Regions from separate parts of the Homo sapiens genome. Here all the other regions are linked to region 1. The links are contacts of gene promoters, found by promoter capture Hi-C in human tissues and cell types (Jung and others, 2019). All regions are on one chromosome and are shown on one strand. Each heading gives the region's core, a stretch centred on a gene start or on the middle of the fragment in contact. The rest is flanking DNA. Distances are from core to core; before and after follow the strand shown. Region 1 holds the start of CABP1 (calcium binding protein 1). Region 2 overlaps SPPL3 (signal peptide peptidase like 3). Region 3 holds the start of ACADS (acyl-CoA dehydrogenase short chain). Region 4 overlaps RNF10 (ring finger protein 10).

Region 1 (2,603 bases), core at 51-2,550:
TTTGAGCCACAGCTCTGCATGCCCCTCCATGCCTACCCAGACACCTCTTCTCTTTCCTCATATTTTTGGATCTCCTAACTTTTCTCAGGCCTTCAGGGACATGATAGGCAGTGGCCAGTGTCCCTCGCCCTCAAGTAATTCTGTGTTCTCTGAGGTCCCCTCTCTTGACCCCCAGACTCCAAACCGCTTGCTCTCCTGAGTCCCTCCCTGGCGGTACTGGCCAGAGGCCAGAGGAGTGGGTTTGGCGCCACCTGCTCGGAGCGCCCCTCCTTGACCCCCGCAAATCTCCAGGACGGTCGTAGAGGTCGCTCTCTTCCAGGACTGGCGGGTTCTGGCGGGTATGAGGGAGGCTAGCGGGGAGGGCCTTGCCCCAAGAGGCCCGGAGCGTGGACAGCGCACGGGGTGCTGAATCAGGCACGGGGAGGAGGAGTGCCGGCAAGGGCGCCGGCCCGGGGAGGACGAGGTGAGCCGAGGCGTGATCCGTGGGGGACCACGGGCCGCGGGAGGAGGCTGTGGACGCGCAACCGCGGCCGGCAGGGTCCCGAGCGCCTTTCCCGGGAGCGCTGACGGGAGGCGCGGCCCTTACCTGGCCAAAGGCGGAGCTGAGCATGGGGCGCAGCCGGTGGAGGAACGGGTCCGCCTCGGACGCGGCGGCTGGAACGGAGTCCCCGCGGCCCCGGGCTCGCAGAGAGCCCCGGAGGCCGAGCGCCGGGGACAGTCCCCGTTCCTCCCCATCCCGCCCGCGGGCCGGCGGCAGCGGCGACGACGGCGAAGGTCGGGACGCCGCGGCCGGCAGCGCCTCCCGGGGCCTGCAGTGCGCCTGGGGGAGCACACGCTGGCTCCCCCGCGCGCCCTCCTCTCGCGGCGCCGGCCGGCACAGGGGCCTCCGCGAACTGGGGTCCCCGGACGACTGCGGCGTCGCCGGGCAGGAGCCGGGTAGCCGGCGGCTAGGCAGCCCCGGGTCCCGGGCAGGGCCGTGGCGGGGAGCCCGGCTGCCCCCGCTCGCCGCCGCCGCCGCCGCCTTCAGCAGCGACGTCTTGGACTCGCTTTTGGCGATGTGCGAGCTCATCGCGGCGGGGCCCGCGCTCGCATGGCCCGGCGGGGGCGGCGCGGTGCGGCGCGGCGCGGGGCCCCCGGCGGGCAGAGAACGGGGCTCCCGGCGGGAGCCAAGCCCGAGGACGCGCTGGAGGCGGGCGCCGTCCCCCGGCCGCTTAAATGCGGCCCCGTCGCCGCCGCCCATGTGACAGCGCAGCCTCTACGCCCGGAGCCCGGAGCTCCCGGCGGCTGGCGGTGCAGATCTGGGGGCGCTGCCGGCTGTCCCCGGAGAGCCCACCCCCGGCTCCCTGGCGGCCCAGGTACCGCCGCGCCCCGCCCCTTGCCCCGCCCCGCCCTGGGGGAGCCCCGCTTCCGGGCGGCCCCTGGCGGCGAAGGGGACGCTGCAACGCGGAGCGGGAGCACGAGGAGGGAAGGGGCTTGGCAATGGGCCCCAAAGAGGCCGAGACCCCGGGAGTGCCGGCAGCGCTCTTTATCACGCCTGGAGGCTCCTGCAGAGCCCCGGAACCGCCCGAACCTCCAGAAATGCAGGCAGGGTGCACTCCCCAGGGGGTACAACTTTGGCAATGAGGACTACAGAGGTCCGGGGAGAACCGGAGACCCGAGGAGCATGAAGGCACTCTGTGACATCACTGCCTACAAACGCAGGGGCCGGAATGCAGTGACAGGACACTGCTGGGAGGAAAGTCTCCCAGCGCCTCCGTGTGGGGCTGCCTCCACTCCCAATACCGTGCGGGGGGACTAGGACGACCCTGGTAAGTCAGCCACAGGATATCAGTTCTCAGAATAGAAGAGAAGCCAGGTCTGGCAGCACCTGATGATGGTAAGTCTCAGGTAGGACCCATTTGCTCCCCCTCCAGCTCTTGTCCCCTCTTTCACCTTCCTGCCTTTCTAGATGCTACAGAAATTCCTGCTCTCGGTGGGCAGCCAGGGAGCGTCCCAGGCCTTATCTGAATCTCAAATCCCAGCTCTGCCACCTACCATCTGGGTAACTTGGGCAGGTGTCATCAACCTCTCTGAGCCTTGTTCTCCTCTTCTGTAAAATGCAGATGATAAGCATAACTAATTTCTTGGTAACAGCAGACGATACTATGCACACAAAAGGCCTAGCCCAGTGCTCGGACAGGGGACCATCCAGTTAAGCCAGTTCCCTTCCCCCTGCACATCGTGAGGCCCCATCTACCATTCTTCTTTAGTATCCGGTGCTTGAGCTTTGCGGGGGGCTGGAGGGGTTCCTCCCAGGCTCTCCCTGTTCTGGTCCCTGGCCCCAATGCCATCCACAGTCTTGTCACCGCTCGGCCTCATTAAAAGGATACACGAGGCCGGGCACAGTGGCTCGCACCTGTAATCCCAGCACTTTGGGAGGCCAAGACCGGCGGATCACTTGAGGTCAGGAGTTCGAGACCAGCCTGGCCAACATGGTGAAACCCTGTCTCTACTAAAAATACAAAAATTAGCCAGGCGTGGTGGTGGGCGCCTGTAATCCCAGCCACTTGTAGGCATGAGAATAACTTGAACCCGGGAAGTGAAAGTTGCAGTGAGCCGAGATT
Region 2 (2,603 bases), core at 39-2,538, 120 kb before region 1:
TGTGTGTGTGTGTGTGTGTGTGCGCGCGCGCGCTACCCTGGCGTTAGCAAACGCTTCCAGATTCGTGCAGCCACTGACAGAAAATGCTGATGAGCTAGACCACTACACCACCTGGTCGAGGAATAACTAATTGAAAGCCCCAGAGCCCAGCTGAGGGTACTTCCTGCTTCTGTTCAAAGCAGTGCCCTCCTGCCACCTAACAGCTTAACACTACGTTAAAGTTTGGGAATAATTAAGATTGAATAGTGTTGAGGCAGCATATGATAAAACCAGAGTTCAAGAGCACATTATTTCCCAGATATCTATTCTCAGCCCCGTTTTACAGATGAGGAAGCAGATACAGAGGTCAACTTACTTGCCCAGCTCACTTGACTCACTACCTCTAGAGAGTTGATAAAAGCCCTTTTCTTGCTCAGGGAGCCTAAAAGCACCCCTTCTAGGGAGTCCTCCTAAAAATAGTGGGTTATTTTTGAATGGGTAAGATTTAAATGCTCTTTGGTTTCCCACAGAAGCAATCTGATCTCAGATCAAGCATCAGAAAGGGGCCAGGGGCATGGTGGCTCACGCCTGTAACCCCCGCACCTTGGGAGGCTGAGGCAGGCGGGTTAAGAGTTCAGGACCAGCCTGGCCAATATGGTGAAACCCTGTCTCTACTAAAAACACAAAAATGAACTGGGCATGGTGGTGAGTGCCTGTAATCCCAGCTACTCAGGAAGCTGAGGCAAGAGAATCGCTTGAACCCAGGAGTCGGAGGTTGCAGTGAGCTGAGATCTCGCCACTGCACTCACTCCAGCCTAGGTGACAGAGTGAGAACCCATCTCAAAAAAAAAAAATATCAGAAAGGGGCCAAGCGCAGCAGCTCATGCCTGTAATCCTAGCACTTTGGAAGGTCGAGGCAGGAGAATTGCCCGAGCCCAGGAGTTTGAGACCAGCCTGGCCAATATATAGGAAGACTTCATACCTGGAAAAAAAATTTTTTTTTTTTAAAGAATCAGACAGCTGTGTGTGCCTCATGTTTAAATCTGTAACTTAGAAAGTCCCTTGTTTCCCAGGGCGACCTCCGGCGGATGTGGTCTGAGCCTTTCCACTCCAAGTCCAGCAGCTCCCGATTCCTGGAAGTATGATGGATCACGTGGAAAGTGACCAGATGGCCGTCATAGTCCTTTTCTCTCAACTCATGGTTTGTTTCCTCTTAGAGCTGGCCTGGTACTCAGAAATGTACCTGTGTTTAAGGAACTGCCGTGTGACTGGATTTGGCATTTAAAGGGAGCTCGTTTGCAGGAGAGAGGTGCTGGAGCCCTGTTTGGTTCCTTCTCTTCCTGCGGATGTAGAGGTGGGGCCCCTTCCAAGAGGGACAGGCCTCTCCCCAGCGCGCCTTCCTCCCACGTTTTTATGGATCTGCACCAGACTGTTACCTTCTGGGGGAGATGGAGATTTGACTGTTTAAAAACTGAAAACAGCGAGGAGTCTTTCTAGAACTTTTGAACACTAAAAGGATGAAAAAAATTAGCAAACCGAAGTTTCTTCAATGACCCCTCGAGAACTTTGGGACCAGTTTCCTATAGGGGACTCAGTTTCAGAGAACTGAGACAGAAGCTCTTCTGTCGTTATATTCTTCTTTCCTTTTTTTGGATTTATTAAATATTTTCTGTGGTGTGAAGTGACTTATTAAATCCACAGACATTGAGTGACTTCTTACAACATCCACATAAGAATTTGTTGTAATGAGTTCATGTCCACCCAGATGTTGTGTTGGCAGTGAACAAGGGCACGGTTTTTATACATACGTACATATATATATATAAACACACACATAGATATATATGAATAAACAAAAATGAAATCCTGCTAAGATCACGCTGTGTAGCTGACAGGGGCTTGCTGTCGTTTTGAGCATGTCGAGCAGTTTACTGTGGCTTCCTTGTATATGGATAAGCTGCTGTCCTTCCCCTTCACAACTGACCCCGCAGTTACAAACTAGTATAGCATTTGTGCTGATTGATGATAGACTCATGGACTTCAGGAGCCCTTACTTGGTTTTGATCAGTGTAGCAAATTAGGGATGAAGAGTTCAAACCTTTTGGCCCTTTCTTTCTTTTCTAGGCTTCTCCCTCGCAGGGTGTTCCGTAGTTTCTTCTCGAGCCAATGCATGTATTATAGCAGCAGGTGTCTTTGTGCTTTCTCATCATAGTAACGTACTACTTGTAAATACATTTTTCTATTTTCTATTTTTTTGTATTTTTTTTTTTGACATTTTGTTTCATTGGTGTGCTGTATATTTTCCATGCCCTCACTCCTTTAAGAAAAAAAAAAAGGAAAAAAGCAACACAATCCTGTCCTTGCTGTTGTGATTATAGTCTTGGTTTACCTGTGGTGACAACCGGGTGTTGGGGACACATGTCAAATGCCCCTCTGAGATGGGCCCTAAATTCCAGTAACTGGGGAAAGAACCAGCTGCTGTGTCCTGAGAGCCTGGCCCTGTGCTGTGGTCTCTGCTGCAAGCCCAGATTTCTGGGAGTAACTAGTGTTAGGTCTGCTGACCTTTACCTAAGCAGCCCCTGCCTGGTAAGAAGGTGCCCATTGTTCAGAGGCAAAGAGAAGCC
Region 3 (2,603 bases), core at 29-2,528, 85 kb before region 1:
GCAACATCTGGTGTGTCTCGGGCAGTTCCACAGACTGGTAGATGGTGTGTAACTGCCGCCAGGCCCTAGGACAGAGAGCTGCCGGCAAGGGCAGAAGTGAGTGGAAGGAGGAGGCAGGAGGTCTCCAAGAATCCTAGTGACCCACTAACTCACCAGGGAGGATTTTGCCCTCCAAGGGACATCTGGCAATGTCTGGAGCCAGTTCTAGTTGTCACAACTAGAGCAGGGGAATACTATTGGTACCCAGTGGATAGGGGTCCGGGATCCCTGCTGAACATCCAACAAGGCAGAGGACAGCCCCCACAACAAAGAACTGTCAGCCCAAAATGTCCATGGCGGCCACTGAAAACCCCATACTAACTGAATGCTTAGTACACTCACTAGACATTTCCATACACTACATCCTTCAGTCCTCAGTATAATACCAACAGTAATAAGACCTCAGCTCTGTGACCTTAGGCAAGGGTTTTAAACGTCAGTGAGCCTCCGTTTCTATAACAAGTGGAGGCGAATAGTATTCCGCTCCTCGGAGTGCGAAAGAAAGACTAACTAGCGCTTAACACAGTTCTCAGTAGCGTTCCCCTTGTAATTCAGGCCAGGCAAAGGAAGCCGTGGCTATATGTGTCACGGCTGCTACAACTGGAGACACGTAAGATGGGAAAGGTACTGTATTAACCAGCAAGAACGAGCATTTGTGGAACACCTGTTACACGCCAGGCACGAAGTGCTTTACATACCCTATGATTTAATCCTCCCAACAACTCTGATTTTCTCTGTGGACATTTTACACATGGGCCAACCGAGGCTGAGGAGGGGCTGTCTTGCCCAAGGTCACAGATGCGGGTCTGGTTCAATCCCAGGCCTGGCTCCGGAAGAAGGACGCACCCTGAACCTCTAGTGGGGGTGAAATGAAGGGAGGGAGATATGGGAACTGGGAACTGGGCTGGTGGCTGGGGTCAATCGGGGGGTAGGGGTCTGTGCAGGAACCAGGGACGCCTGAAGGGCCGGGCTGGGTCGGCGCAAGGAGCAGCAGAACTGGGGCAAAGGCCGTGAGCGCTCCCGGAGTGGGGCTCCGCCTGCCAGCGGCTCTGACAGAGCCGGCCGCCAGGACCTCCGCCCGCTGGGCCAGACGCGGGCTGAAGCCCCGCCGTACGGATCCCCAGCGCACTCACCTCTGCGGGCAGGGCCCGAGGCCCGGGCGAGCAGCGCGGCGGCCATGGGCGACAGACACAGTCCCAGGCTTCGCGACCTCCCGCTGCGAGCGCGCTGTTCCGGAGTGCTGGGGGGCGGGACCCGGGACAGAGGCCACGCCCGTAGGGCCTCGGGAGCGGGGCCGAGGTGCGCTCGCGGCCAGGGGGCGGGGCCTCCAGTGGTCCCTCCCAAGGCGAGGAACCGACGCTCGACTGCGCGCGCGGTCGGTCAGCTGGCTGTTCGTGCCCACATTCGTTAATCAAAATGCTAACAAGAGAAAGCTAAGGATAGAGCTTCGCAGAAAGGCCAGAGAGGTCTTTTTAAAGCATAAATAAGATAGCGATCTTCGGGTTAAAACTTTGTTGGCTTTGTCGGCGGGCCCATCCCTCCTAAAATCCAATTCTATGGCTTAAAAAGCCAAGACCTGCCTTGTCTATCAGGGCCCATGCCCACCGTTCCCTGGTTATTGTTGCTTAGCTTTACGAGGCAGCTCTTCTCTAAGACCCTTAGCTGGTTCCTGACTCGGGGCCTCTGTGATCACTGTTCCTTTTGTCTGGAATGCCCCCTCTTCGTTTAGGTCTCATGGATGCCTGCCCTGACCACACCAAGCCGTTTCTCCCCCTCTGGCTCTCTATCTTTCGTTCTGTTTATTCAAGGCACTTTGCATCTGAAATTATCTGCTTCCCCGACTCGCTCCGAGAAGCTCAAGGACCTGTCTTGTGTTGGTGCTCAATATTTAGGCCCCTGGAGTTGGGCTGCAAGGAAAGCTTTCTTTTCCCCAGAGGCTGTGAAGGTGGGTGGAGATGCTACCCCCGTTCCACTTCAGTACTGTGTCTCATTCCCGATTGGGGCAGAACCCAGACACATATTTGACCCCTAGCATCCTCATCAGGACACCTTTGCCCCGCCCAAGAAACTATGCTGATTTTACTTGTCCCATAAGGGTCTTCTCTTGTGCAAGTGTGATTCTGATTCCCATAGCCTCCTGGGCACCACCCACGCCCTCCCAGGCACCCACACATCCCTCCAACTGCCTTTCTTTCCCAGCACTCAGCCAGGCAGGCATCTGTTCCCAGCATTGACCTATTTGCCAAAACTTCTGTCTCTTCCTCTTGGAGGAAAGTGGAAACCTCGGTCACTACTTCCTAGAAGAAAGCCAATCAAAAGATGCAGCAAAGTCCTTAATGTGTTACCTTTCTTTTTAAATAATGCATTTAAAAGAACGCCTCTAAATTCTCAGTACTTTAAAGTCAAATGAATGGCTCCCATTGGCAAATGCTCTAAGGGCTTCCTCACCTTTCCGTCATCCCACCTGGGAACCAGCCCTGGGTGGAAGAAACGATGAAGAAGCAGGAGAAAAGGGAGAAATAAGTGAGTTGTGTTTGTGAGCAAAGGCCAATAATTGCTTCAGG
Region 4 (2,603 bases), core at 74-2,573, 79 kb after region 1:
TTAGATCTCACAGTAATGCCTACCAGCTCAATGACAGCATTTGAGGAACGGCAGCCACTTAGTAACAGGAACACACTAACCTTCCTGGGTTGAAAAACAGACTCCTTCGCCAAGGGAGCCATCAGCACCAGTTGTTCCAGAGCAGCCACAACACCAGTGACCTCCCTTCTGCTTCCGGCCAATCCCGACAGAGCCTCTTCCCGAGTCTAACGTGGCCAGAGAGAACACCAGAGAAGGTTAAGTTTCCAGACACACACTTAGCTTGAAGGGCAAGGGCTTAGAATGGCCTCTCAACAGGACCAAAAGTTAAAAGGCAATGAGACCCAATGGGAAGGAATTAGGTGCTTAAATATCTCAACTTTGAGGGAAACAGGAAGCAAAAAGCATGCAATACCCACTAAGGATTGGAATCTGCTTAGAATCTGACACTGGGGAGTGTAAATTAGTTCAATCATTGTGGAAGACAGTGTGGTGATTCCTCAAAGACCTAAAGACAGAAATAAAATTTCACCCAGCAATCCCATTACTGGGTATATAGCCAAAGGAATATAAATCATTCTACTGTAAAGACACATACGGCCAGGTGTGGTGGCTCATGCCTGTAATCCCAGCACTTTGGGAGACTGAGGTGGGCGGATCACCTGAGGTTGGAAGTTCAAGACCACCCTGACCAACATGGAGAAACCCCATCTCTACTAAAAATACAAAATAACCCAGGCATGGTGGGGCATGCCTGTAATTCCTGCTACTCAGGAGGCTGAGGCAGGAGAATCACTTGAACCTTGGAGGCAGAGGTTGTGATGAGCCGAGATCACGCCACTGCACTCCAGCCTGGGCAACGAGAGCAAAACTCTGTCTCAAAAAAAAAAAAAAAAAAAAGAAAGAAAGAAAAAGAAAAACCAAATATCGCACACATGTTCTCACTTCTAAGTGGGAGCTAAATGATGAAACATGGACACATAGAGGGGAACACACACTGAGGCCTATCAGAGGGTGGAGAGTGGGAGGAGGGAGGGGATCAGGAAAAATAACCAATGGGTACTAAGCTTAATACCTGGGTGAAAATCTGTATAACAAACCCCCATGACACAGGTTTACCATGTAACAACCTGCATTTGTACCCCTGAACTTAAAAGTTAAAAAAAATAAAAGAGAATCTGACACAAACAACACTATACAAAAAACTTCCAGAACAGAAATCTAAGAACATGAAACTAACCTAGTTTTTACAAACTATGCTCAGACAGAGGTCCAGAGTAGTAGGAAGGATTTAGCTAACTCCACCTCAGCCTGGACAGCTCTAATTCTATGTAGCCTTTCTTATGCCTGTAATGGCATTTGAACAAATACGGCTGCAACGTATTATAGAAAGAAAGCAAAAGTTAAATACACAGGACTCTACCCAAGGAGCCCTTGGGAGTCAGGGAGAAGGGAATTCAAATACCAGCTGCATCCCTTACTAGCAAATTACCCAACCCAGGATTCAGTTTCCTCATCCATGAAAGGGGATAGTTCTATCTACCACACTAGAAGCTTAAGTGAGATAAATGTGTATAGCACAAGTCCTATCAAATGCTGATCACTCAATAAATATGGGCTTCTATTGCTCTAAGCTAGATCAGTGGTTCCAGGAGTGTGGTCTGGGGATGAGCAGCCATCAGAATCACCCTAGAACTTGTTATATGCAAATTACTGAGCCTACTGAGCTTAACCTATGCAATCAATATCTCAAAGTGGGACCTAACAACCAGTGGTTGTGATGCTTCAAGAATCTCTGTTGTGGAAGATAAAAGACCCAGGGAATTCTGTTCTTGTGTAATTCTTGCCGTTTCAGGTACTCCTAAGGCATACTGGGCAGGCCATAATACTTTCTCCACAATGTCTTTCAAAACACCTCTAGAATAGAATCTTAAGTATTTTCCCAGAAAACAAAGAACTCTAACTTGCTTTAAGAACATAGCTAATCTAAAAAACTCCACTGTCACAATTAGTTATAAAATCATTTTGACTTGCTCCTTTCAGCTCTAGAAAGAGCTTTAAAAGCCCTAGGTTAAACCTTCTCTACTGTCATCAAACAAAGCCCAAAACAAATTGGCTTTTTTAGCCATTCTCTGCTTATTGTCTTAAATGTGGAATGGAACTAACTTAATCCCCAGCGTCCATCATCTCACCCCCGACAGAGTGAAAAGGTTTAGCATTTCTGGTTTTCACCACAGAACGCCGAGAAAGTGAAAAGGTTTAGCATCTCCAATGCATCCTCTCACCTTGAGCTCCTGGATAGCTGCCTCAATAAAGCAGGACTCGGGAGTGTGCTTCTCCTCTGCCAGCTGCTGCTCTAGTGCTACTTTCTCCTCCAGAACTACCCGGTGCAGCACCTGCTCCTTAGAGGCCAGCAGCAACTTGGAGTACTGGCTGTGCTGTTCATCTATAAGAATGCCAGCAAGATCAAAGAAATGCAACATTCAAAGCTCACGATGGTGTAGCTAAATAGGAATTTTCAAATACAGCCTTTTCTCTGGGGTGAAAATGGGGTAATTTAGCATGATTTCCTAGAAAATAATTTAACAATGGTCTTAAAATAAGGTCTGTAGCTCTGCTCTTGA

Evidence for each region. The method cuts DNA at HindIII sites, captures the fragments that hold promoters and counts their contacts. A contact is called where the count stands out against the background at its distance.
Region 2: a contact is called between a fragment that was not itself captured here and the fragment with the promoter of CABP1 in region 1, in 2 of the 25 tissues and cell types used here (bladder and stomach).
Region 3: the fragment with the promoter of ACADS here is called in contact with the fragment with the promoter of CABP1 in region 1 in 4 of the 25 tissues and cell types used here (IMR-90 fibroblasts, adrenal gland, heart left ventricle and 1 more).
Region 4: a fragment that was not itself captured here is called in contact with the fragment with the promoter of CABP1 in region 1 in 4 of the 25 tissues and cell types used here (aorta, heart left ventricle, neural progenitor cells and 1 more).

What each region holds. Positions count from the first base shown.
Region 1 is chr12:120,639,323-120,641,925 of GRCh38, reverse strand. CABP1 (calcium binding protein 1) reads right to left here and starts at 1,300. Exons shown (of 6, transcript NM_001033677.2): 1 at 587-1,300. The coding sequence starts at 1,240. CABP1-DT (CABP1 divergent transcript) reads left to right here and starts at 1,404. Exons shown (of 2, transcript NR_183426.1): 1 at 1,404-1,876. RefSeq lists silencers at 321-420, 641-810, 821-920, 1,141-1,440. The HindIII fragment of the contact is 37,846 bases long and covers 1-2,603 here.
Region 2 is chr12:120,763,520-120,766,122 of GRCh38, reverse strand. SPPL3 (signal peptide peptidase like 3) reads left to right here. Exons shown (of 11, transcript NM_139015.5): 11 at 1,053-2,603. The coding sequence ends at 1,124. Among named protein-coding and RNA genes, the nearest start is that of ACADS, 39 kb to the right of the region's middle. The HindIII fragment of the contact is 7,096 bases long and covers 1-2,603 here.
Region 3 is chr12:120,724,501-120,727,103 of GRCh38, reverse strand. ACADS (acyl-CoA dehydrogenase short chain) reads right to left here and starts at 1,278. Exons shown (of 10, transcript NM_000017.4): 1 at 1,173-1,278; 2 at 1-78. The coding sequence starts at 1,218. RefSeq lists a silencer at 959-1,468 and an enhancer at 1,105-1,606. The HindIII fragment of the contact is 31,377 bases long and covers 1-2,603 here.
Region 4 is chr12:120,560,548-120,563,150 of GRCh38, reverse strand. It overlaps RNF10 (ring finger protein 10), which reads right to left. Exons shown (of 17, transcript NM_014868.5): 7 at 2,265-2,425; 8 at 81-206. Among named protein-coding and RNA genes, the nearest start is that of POP5, 20 kb to the left of the region's middle. The HindIII fragment of the contact is 5,481 bases long and covers 1-2,603 here.